2 separate regions of the Homo sapiens genome follow, and region 1 is linked to region 2. The links are contacts of gene promoters, found by promoter capture Hi-C in human tissues and cell types (Jung and others, 2019). All regions are on one chromosome and are shown on one strand. The core of a region is centred on a gene start or on the middle of the fragment in contact, and the rest is flanking DNA. Distances in the headings are between cores, read along the strand shown.

Region 1 (3,967 bases), core at 663-3,162, 200 kb after region 2:
GCCATTTTATTAATAAAAGCATTCTTAAAACAAATTATCAGGAACACTCTAGAGGCACACTCCTCGTAGCTTGCAGTCTAATAATCTACTGTGAAGACACCAAGTCCAGCTGAATCACCTCCCATAGGGCTTGTCAATCCTGTCACAGTGAGCTATGATCGTGCCACTGTACCCCAGCATGGGGGACAGAGTGAGATCCTGTCTATAAATTAAATAAAGCAATGTAAAAATAAACAGACATATGTCATTTCTGGTTCGGAAGACTAAATTTTCAGTAAGATTGAGGTTTCCCATACTAATCCATAGATTTTATGCAACACATTATCAATCTGAAATGCCAGTAGAACATTTTGGAACATTTAATAAAAGTCTGATTGATAAGGCCATCAAAGAAACAGGCATGTTGCTAATGAAATCCAAAAACAGTCTAGTCCAATAAAATGTAACGGCTATAAACTTGAACATCTTAACTATATTAAAACATTAACACTCCTCATAAATAGTACGAGAAGCAAAAACAAGAACTTTGCACAAAGATGTGTAAGTACCGGTCAAAACAGCAAACTTAGATGGGCATAGTGGCTCATGCCTGTAAACCCAGCACTTTGGGAGGCTGAGGCAGGAGAATCACTTGCCCAGGAGGCGGAGGTTGCACTGAGCCAAGATTGCACCACTGCACTCCAACCTGGGTGACAGAGCAAGACTCCATCTCAAAAAAAAAAAAAAAAAAAAAAAAAAAAACATTAAAAAATAAATTAGCCAGGTGCAGTAGCTCACACCTGTAATCCCAGCACTTTAGGAGGCCAAGGCAGGTGAATCACCTGAGGCTGGGAGTTCGAGACCAGCCTGACCAACATGGAGAAACCCTGTCTTTACTAAAAATACAAAATTAGCTGGGCGTGGTGGTGCGTGCTTGTAATCCCAGCCACTCGGGAGGCTGAGGCAGGAGAATCGCTTGAACCCGGGAGGCGAAGGTTGCCGATGAGCCGAGATTGTGCCATTGCACTCCAGCTTGGGCAACAAGAGCAAAACTCCATCTCAAAAAAATAAATAAATAAATTAGTCGGGGCTGGGTGCAGTGGCTCACGCCTGTAGTCCCAGCACTTTGAGAGGCTGAGGTGGGCGGATCACGAGGTCAGGAGATCGAGACCATCCTGGCTAACACGGTGAGACCCCATCTCTACTAAAAATACAAAAAAGTAGCCAGGTGTGGTGGTGGGCGCCTGTAGTCTCAGCTACTCGAGAGGCTGAGGCAGGAGAATGGCGTGAACCCAGGAGGCGGAGCTTGCAGTGAGCCGAGATCGCGCCACTGCATTCCAGCCTGGGGAACACAGCAAGACTCCATCTAAATAAATAAATTATAATAAATAAATAAATAAGTCAGACATGGTGGCATGTGCCTGTAGTACCAGCTACTTGGGAGGCTGAGGTGGAAGGAGCACTCGGCCCAGGAGGTTGAGGCTGCAGTGAGCTGTGACTGTGCCACTGCACTAGTCTGGGAGACAGAGTAAGACCCTGTCTCAGATAAATAAATAAATAAACAAACACCAAAGTCTCAAAATCTGGACCCAGCCTAGGCCACCACCACTACTGCCTCCTACCAACCACACATCTGAACCATCCAATTGACCTGCATCTCAACGAAGAGCCTCTTGGAAATCAGCAGCGGCTGGCAGAAAGGCTTTAGCTGCTGTCGTCTTCCATCCCACCTCCCCACCAAAATACCAGGACCTTCATCTCTGTTTATGAATGATGATGCTTTCGGTTTTGCAAAATGTATGCTCATCACCAGAAATAAAAAAGTGATCCCAGAAACTGGAAAGCACCAAAAGGGATTCCGACTTCAAAACCCAGTACTGCAATGAATAACGGCAAGCTGATACAGTTTGGATGTTTGTCCCCTCCAAATCTCCTGTTGAAATGTGATTCTCAATGATGGAATGGAGCCTGGTGGGTGGGAGGTGTTTGGGTTACACTAGCATTCCTCATGAATGGCTTGGTGCCCTCCCAGCGGTAATTAGTTCACATGAGATCTGGTTGTTTGAAAAGGAGTCTGGTACCCCCCGCCCCCACACTGCTCTCTCTAGCCATGTGATATACCAGCTCCCCTTCCATTCCACCATAATTTTAAGCTTCCATAGGCCCTCACCAGAAGCAGATGCTGGAGCTAGGCATGTACAGCCCTGAATCATGAGCCAAATAAAACTCTTTTCTTTATAAATGATCCAGCCTCAGGTATTCCTTGACAGGAACACAAACTAACAAAAAGGCCCACTATCACCCCTGAGAGGGGTGCCCTTTACTCCATCCTCCCACCTGCCCTGTACTGGATCTGACCGGACATTCAGCTAGCCCTGTATTCTGGAAAAGCCAGGGGCATCCATCCTTCCCAGGGAGAAGTGGTATCTAGATGCAATCTGATTCCTCCTTTCCACCTTAAAGACAATCAGGGAGATGATCAGATATGGCAGGAAGGAAAACCCTGAGGAGTTGGCAGGCAGAGTGAAACAAAGACAAGTGCAATATCCACTGAACAGTTAGGCCCCTTTCCCTTGCCAAAGAGAAGTGCACCCATGAGGAAAATAGATTTTCCTACAGCTTTGTATTAGCAATGTCAAAGGACATGACCAGTAGCTGGCTTCAGACCAGCCCAGAGAGGTTAAGTCTCATATTGTGAAAAAGAGAAACAGACTAGGCTGGCTCCATATGGTCCCATCTCAAAGAGACTCAGATCAGCCCAGCAGACTCTGAACACCTCTCACCTCGTCTACTCCACTCCATGGATCTCAAACTCAATGGGTGACACAAAAACAGTTTTTACTAGGCAGGCATGGTGGTATACACCTGTAGTCCCAGCTACTTGGGAGGCTGAGGCAGGAAGATCATTTGAGCCTATGAATTCAGGGCTGCAGTGAGCCGTGACCACTCCACTATACTCCAAGCTGGGCAACAGCGAGACCCTGTTTCAAAAAAAAAAAAAAAAAAAAAAAAAAGCCAGGCACTGTAACTCGCGCCTATAATCCCAGTACTTTAGGAGGCCTAGATGAGAGGATTGCTTGAGCCCAGGAGTTAGAGACCTGCCTGGGCAACACAGGGAGACCTTGTCTCTACAATTTTTTTTTTTTTTGAGACGGCGTCTCGCTCTTTCACCCAGGCTGGAGTGCTAGGGCGCTACCTCAGCTCACTGCAAGCTCTGTCTCCCAGGTTCACGCCATTCTCCTGCCTCAGCCTCTCGAGTAGCTGGGAGTACAGGCGCCCACCACCGCGCCCGGCTAATTTTTTGTATTTTTAGTAGAGATGGGATTTCACCGTGTTAGCCAGGATGGTCTTGATCTCCTGACCTTGTGATCCACCCGCCTTGGCCTCCCAAAGTGATGGGATTACAGGCATGAGCCACCGCGCCCTGCCTCTACAAGAAAATTTTAAAAATTAACCAGGCATGGTGGTGTGCACCTGTAGTCCCAGCTACTCAGGAGACTAAGGTGAGAGGATCACTTAAGCCTGGGAGGTCAAAGTTGCAGTGAACCATATCATGTCACTGAACCCCAGCCTGGGCAACAGGGCAAGACCTTGTCTCAAAAAAAAAAAAAAAGGTTTTTATTAAAGAAAAAAGAACATACGGCTAGGCATGATGACTCATACTTGTAATCCCAGCACTTTGGGAGGCCGAGATGAGTGGACTGCTTGAGCTCACTTCAAGACTAGCCTGGGCAACATGGCAAAACCCTGTCTCTACAAAAAATACAAAAACGGCCGGGCGTGGTGCCTCACGTTGTAATCTTACTACTTTGGGAGGCTGAGGCAGGCAGACTGACTGAGCTCAGGAGTTCAAGACCAGCCTGGGCAACATGGCGAAACCCCATCTCTACTAAAAATACAAAAAATTAGCCAGGCGTGGTGGTGTGCGCCTGTAATCCCAACTACTGGGGAGGCTGAGGCACGAGAATAGCTTGAACCCGGGAGGTGG
Region 2 (3,942 bases), core at 879-3,378:
ATCCCTGTTCCTCTCCAAGGTCAACCCTCCCTGTTTCCTTATATCTTCTGATGGATTTCACTCCTATATAGGTCAAGCAAGCCTCCTCTCTCCTGGATCACCCATCTTTCTTCCCCACCATATCCCTCCCAATGGCACATAAACATGCTCTGGGAACCCTACCATCTTTTATTTTATTTATTATTATTTTTTGAGATGGAGTCCCGCTTTGTTGCCCAGGCTGGAGTGCTGTGGCCCAATCTTGGCTCTCTGCAACCTCTGCCTCCCGGGTTCAAGCAATTCTCCTGCCTCAGCCTCCCCAGTAGCTTGGATTACAGGCGCGCGATACCATGCCCAACTAATTTTTGTATTTTTAGTAGAGACCGGGTTTCACCATATTGGCCAGGCTGGTCTCGAACTCCTGACCTCAGGTGATCCACCTGCCTTGGCCTCCCAAAGTGCTAGGATAACAGGCGTGAGCCACTGCGCCCGGCCCCTACTATCTTTTAAAAGATTTCTTTCTATATCTATCCCCAAACTTATCTGGTCCCTTCACAGCAAAACCTCTCTCAAATTGCATACATGTGCTGTCTCCATTTCCTCACTTTCCTGGTGACTGTTTAACCCATTCCGGTCAGGTCCACCTCCCTGATATACTCACGTGAATCAAGCCAAGGCCATCAGTGACATTCTCCAGTGACTTGCAAGGTGACCCAATCCAATAGCCACATCTCTGGCCCAAGTTTATCACACCGCTCAGCTGATGCCTCCTACCTGAAACCTTCTCTGCCCAGGGATTCCACAACTCAGCGCTAGCTTTCATGACTTCCTAGATGCTGCCTTTCAGACTCCTTCTCCATTACCCTCCCAATATTGGAGTGCCCCAGGATTTGGCCATGGAATTTCTCTTCACTCTTTCCTCCAAGCCAAGCCAGGGGTCGTAAACTGACAGCTCATCTGTGTGGTTTAATCAGCTCATGAAGTTTAAAAACATCTGATTCAGTTGCTAACATCTAAAAACTCTGGAGATTTGACATCTTAAAAATACAGATTTTTTTATTCCTTTAGGGGAAAAAAAAAGAGTATGTTATTGGGCCAGCATTCTCACAACGGAACGGTCAGATGGATGGAGAAGAAGCTGCTCCCTAGATATTGGGTCCATTTGATATCTAAGGGAAGAGTCATATTCCCTGTAAGTACCAAAAGGCTCTCATCCCAGAGCCACCAGCACCTTGCAGTCAGTTCTTGGTCAACTTGACTGCAGGTTGGGAAGGGTCCGCAGGCGCCTCCTGGGGAGGGGTGGGACTGAAGGTCTCCGCCCACAGAGAACAGCTCTCCCGCAAAGACAAGAAATGCACGTTTCCACAGAATTACACAGCGCTAAATACAGAAACTCCTTTCAGTAAAAAGCGATTGCTATGAACGTGTTAAAGCATCAAGTCTGGTTTTCCGCCACCTCTCCGGGCTGAGGTGGCCTGGGGACACCAAGAGGAGGCCCTCCCACTCTCCTCTCGCACCCGCTTTTAGGTGGCCCTCTTCTAGGGCGGAGAGATCACCAAAAGCCGCTGAGCAAGGACAGCCCTTCCAGTCGTCGCTCGCGGGCACGGAGCTGGGAGCGCGCGGGAACCGACCGGGCCTTACTCTGGGGCGGGCAGCTGTAAGACATTCGGAGGGCGGGTCGGGCCTGGCTGGGGCGGAGACTGGGCGGGGCCGGGCCCGGGAGCCTCCTCAGCCCCACTGGCTTGCCCCGCGCGCGCTTCCTCCAGCCACCCCCACTTCCCCAACCCTGTACGGGTTCAGGGGGCCGGAGACAGCAGCTAGGGAATAAGGTCAAGCGGACTGGATCCGGCACCGCCCAGGGGCGGCGGCCTCCGCCCAGGAAGCCCCACCCAGCGGGAGCCAGGACGCCGCGGCGCCGGCAGAGCCCACGAGCGACCCGGCGAGGGCGCGTGCGGCGTGACGACGCGACTCGCGGCGCGTCCCGTGACGCCATCGCGCCCGCTTTTGAAAGTTGGCGCCCGGGGCCGCCTCCCATGCTGCCCTGCGCCAACCCCTCCCCTCACCTTTCCTCCCCCGCCCTCTACTCGCCGCCCGGCCGGTCCCCCCACCCGTCCCTTCCCTTATCAGCACCCGCGGCCCCGGCAGCGCCGACGCAGGCGCACTGCACCGCGCCGCCGCCATTTTGTGTCTGAGCCTGTGGAGCGATTAAACCGTGCGCGGAGCTGCTTCTTTGGCGGCAGCGGCGGCGGCGGTGGCCGGTGCGGACGCGCGGAGCTCGCCGGAGACGCCGGGTGGCCGGAGCCGTGGAGCGGCGGCGGAGCGGGCGCCGCGGGGGGTGTGGCGCGGAGGTAAGGGGGCCCGGGGTGGAGGAGGTTTCGCGGGCCGCCTCTAGGTGTCACGATGGGGCCGCTCCGGTCGGCGCTGGCTGCAGCCCGGCGCCAGCGCCGCCGCCGGGGGGTGTTTGTCTCCCTCTACCGTCCCTGCTGCGGCGCGGCCGCCGCCATTGCCCGTCGCCGCCGTGGCCCGGCCGCCCCCCCCACCCCCACGCCCGCCCGCCCGCCCGCCCGCTAGGCCTCCCTCCTGGCAGCGCGCTAGGCCTCGGGCGGCGGCAGAGGCAGAGGCCCGCGCGCCCGGCGACTCCATTTTCCTTCCTTTGTCTGCCCTCGAGGCCGGTTCTTGGCCGGCCGATCGCCCGGCCGCGGCCCGCCCTCTGTCCTGTGTCCTCCGCCCCTCCCGCGGCGGGTGGCCCCAGCTGAGACACTATCTCCGCGTCCCGGCTTCGGCGCCCGCCTAGCTTAAGGGTTCGGACCGACTGCCGCCGCGCGCTAAGCCAGGTCCCGGTGCCGTATGGGTGTCGGGCCCTGGCCGTCGCGTCTCGGGCTGCCCCTCCTCCAGCCAGCCCCGTCCCCGGAACCTACCCTGCCGGCCTGCGTGCCTTCCCAGCTGCTTGGCTGCTCGGCGGTCGCTCCCAGTCCGCGCGTCGCCGCCGCTGGTCTCCGTCTCCGCCGAGTGGCGCAGGCGGCGCTGCAGCGGCTGCGAGCAGAGGGACCCCAGAGCTGCCGAGAGCTCCCTCTGCAAGGCTGGCTGAGCTGCTCGCACCTCTACGCTGCCTGAGCGGGCGGGGGGACGCGCGCTCGCCGCCCCCGCTGCGCCCCCAAACTCGCGCCCGGGTTCCTGGCCGGACCCGACCGGTGCGGCCCCCCCACGGTGGGCGGAAAAGATGCGAGTTCCGCACCAAGTAGTTTTTATCCAGCCGGGTTCGGACTCCCCAGCCGAGTGATAGCAGCCTGACTTTGTGCGCTCAGAGATCTCAAAGGGACTGAAACTTAAATTTCATTCTGATCTCAAGTGACGTGACAAATTTCTGAATTTGGGAGTATGGGCTAAGTCCCTTGAGTTTCCCTCCCGCTTTAAAATGTCCTCACACTAACTTAGTACCTGATGCTCTAGGGCTAGGTGAAGGCGGTTCTGCCCCAGGATTGTGCAACTCGATCTAGAGCGCCAGTAGGGCAGAATGAGTTTATTCTTGACTCGACTGGTAATTTGCCCATGCGATGAAATATGAGGGTTGATGTTGTAATTGAATCCTGGGTCACTTGCTGCAGATGGTTTATAAATATCTACGCCTAATGTAACTACTGTTTAGTAGGAGACTTCCTGTAGCCCCGAGTTCAGCGTTAAGTAAACATTCGCATACGTAGTCTTCATACTTTGAGTTTCGATCAACTAGGAAAGTTAAAAACCAAGTCCTCATAGGTGGGAAAGGAAGTTAAACAAGGCATATATTTAAATTTATTCGGTCCTTAAGTTTTCTTTCTTCACTAAAAAGCATCCCGTTGAATTGCGGGAGTCTTTTGCTTTTCCGTAAATATTCTAGTGCCTTAATATAGTTCATTGCAGCAGTTAATGTATCAGTTCGGGTTGTTTTGGAGAGAAGAAAGTCTGGATTAACCTGTTTTTAGG

What was found. Contacts are between HindIII fragments. The study calls those that stand out against the background at their distance.
Region 1: a contact is called between a fragment that was not itself captured here and the fragment with the promoter of CTCF in region 2, in 1 of the 25 tissues and cell types used here (pancreas).

Annotation. Positions count from the first base shown.
Region 1 is chr16:67,764,488-67,768,454 of GRCh38, forward strand. The region is part of intron 3 of RANBP10 (RAN binding protein 10); the gene reads right to left. Among named protein-coding and RNA genes, the nearest start is that of RANBP10, 40 kb to the right of the region's middle. The HindIII fragment of the contact is 7,139 bases long and covers 1-3,967 here.
Region 2 is chr16:67,560,398-67,564,339 of GRCh38, forward strand. It overlaps CTCF (CCCTC-binding factor), which reads left to right and starts at 2,129. Exons shown (of 12, transcript NM_006565.4): 1 at 2,129-2,327. CTCF-DT (CTCF divergent transcript) reads right to left here and starts at 1,912. Exons shown (of 1, transcript NR_158165.1): 1 at 1,014-1,912. LOC124903703 (a long non-coding RNA gene) reads right to left here and starts at 3,053. Exons shown (of 2, transcript XR_007065094.1): 1 at 2,898-3,053. RefSeq lists enhancers at 1,221-1,270, 1,291-1,340, 2,485-3,347 and silencers at 1,571-2,580, 3,101-3,200. The HindIII fragment of the contact is 9,573 bases long and covers 1-3,942 here.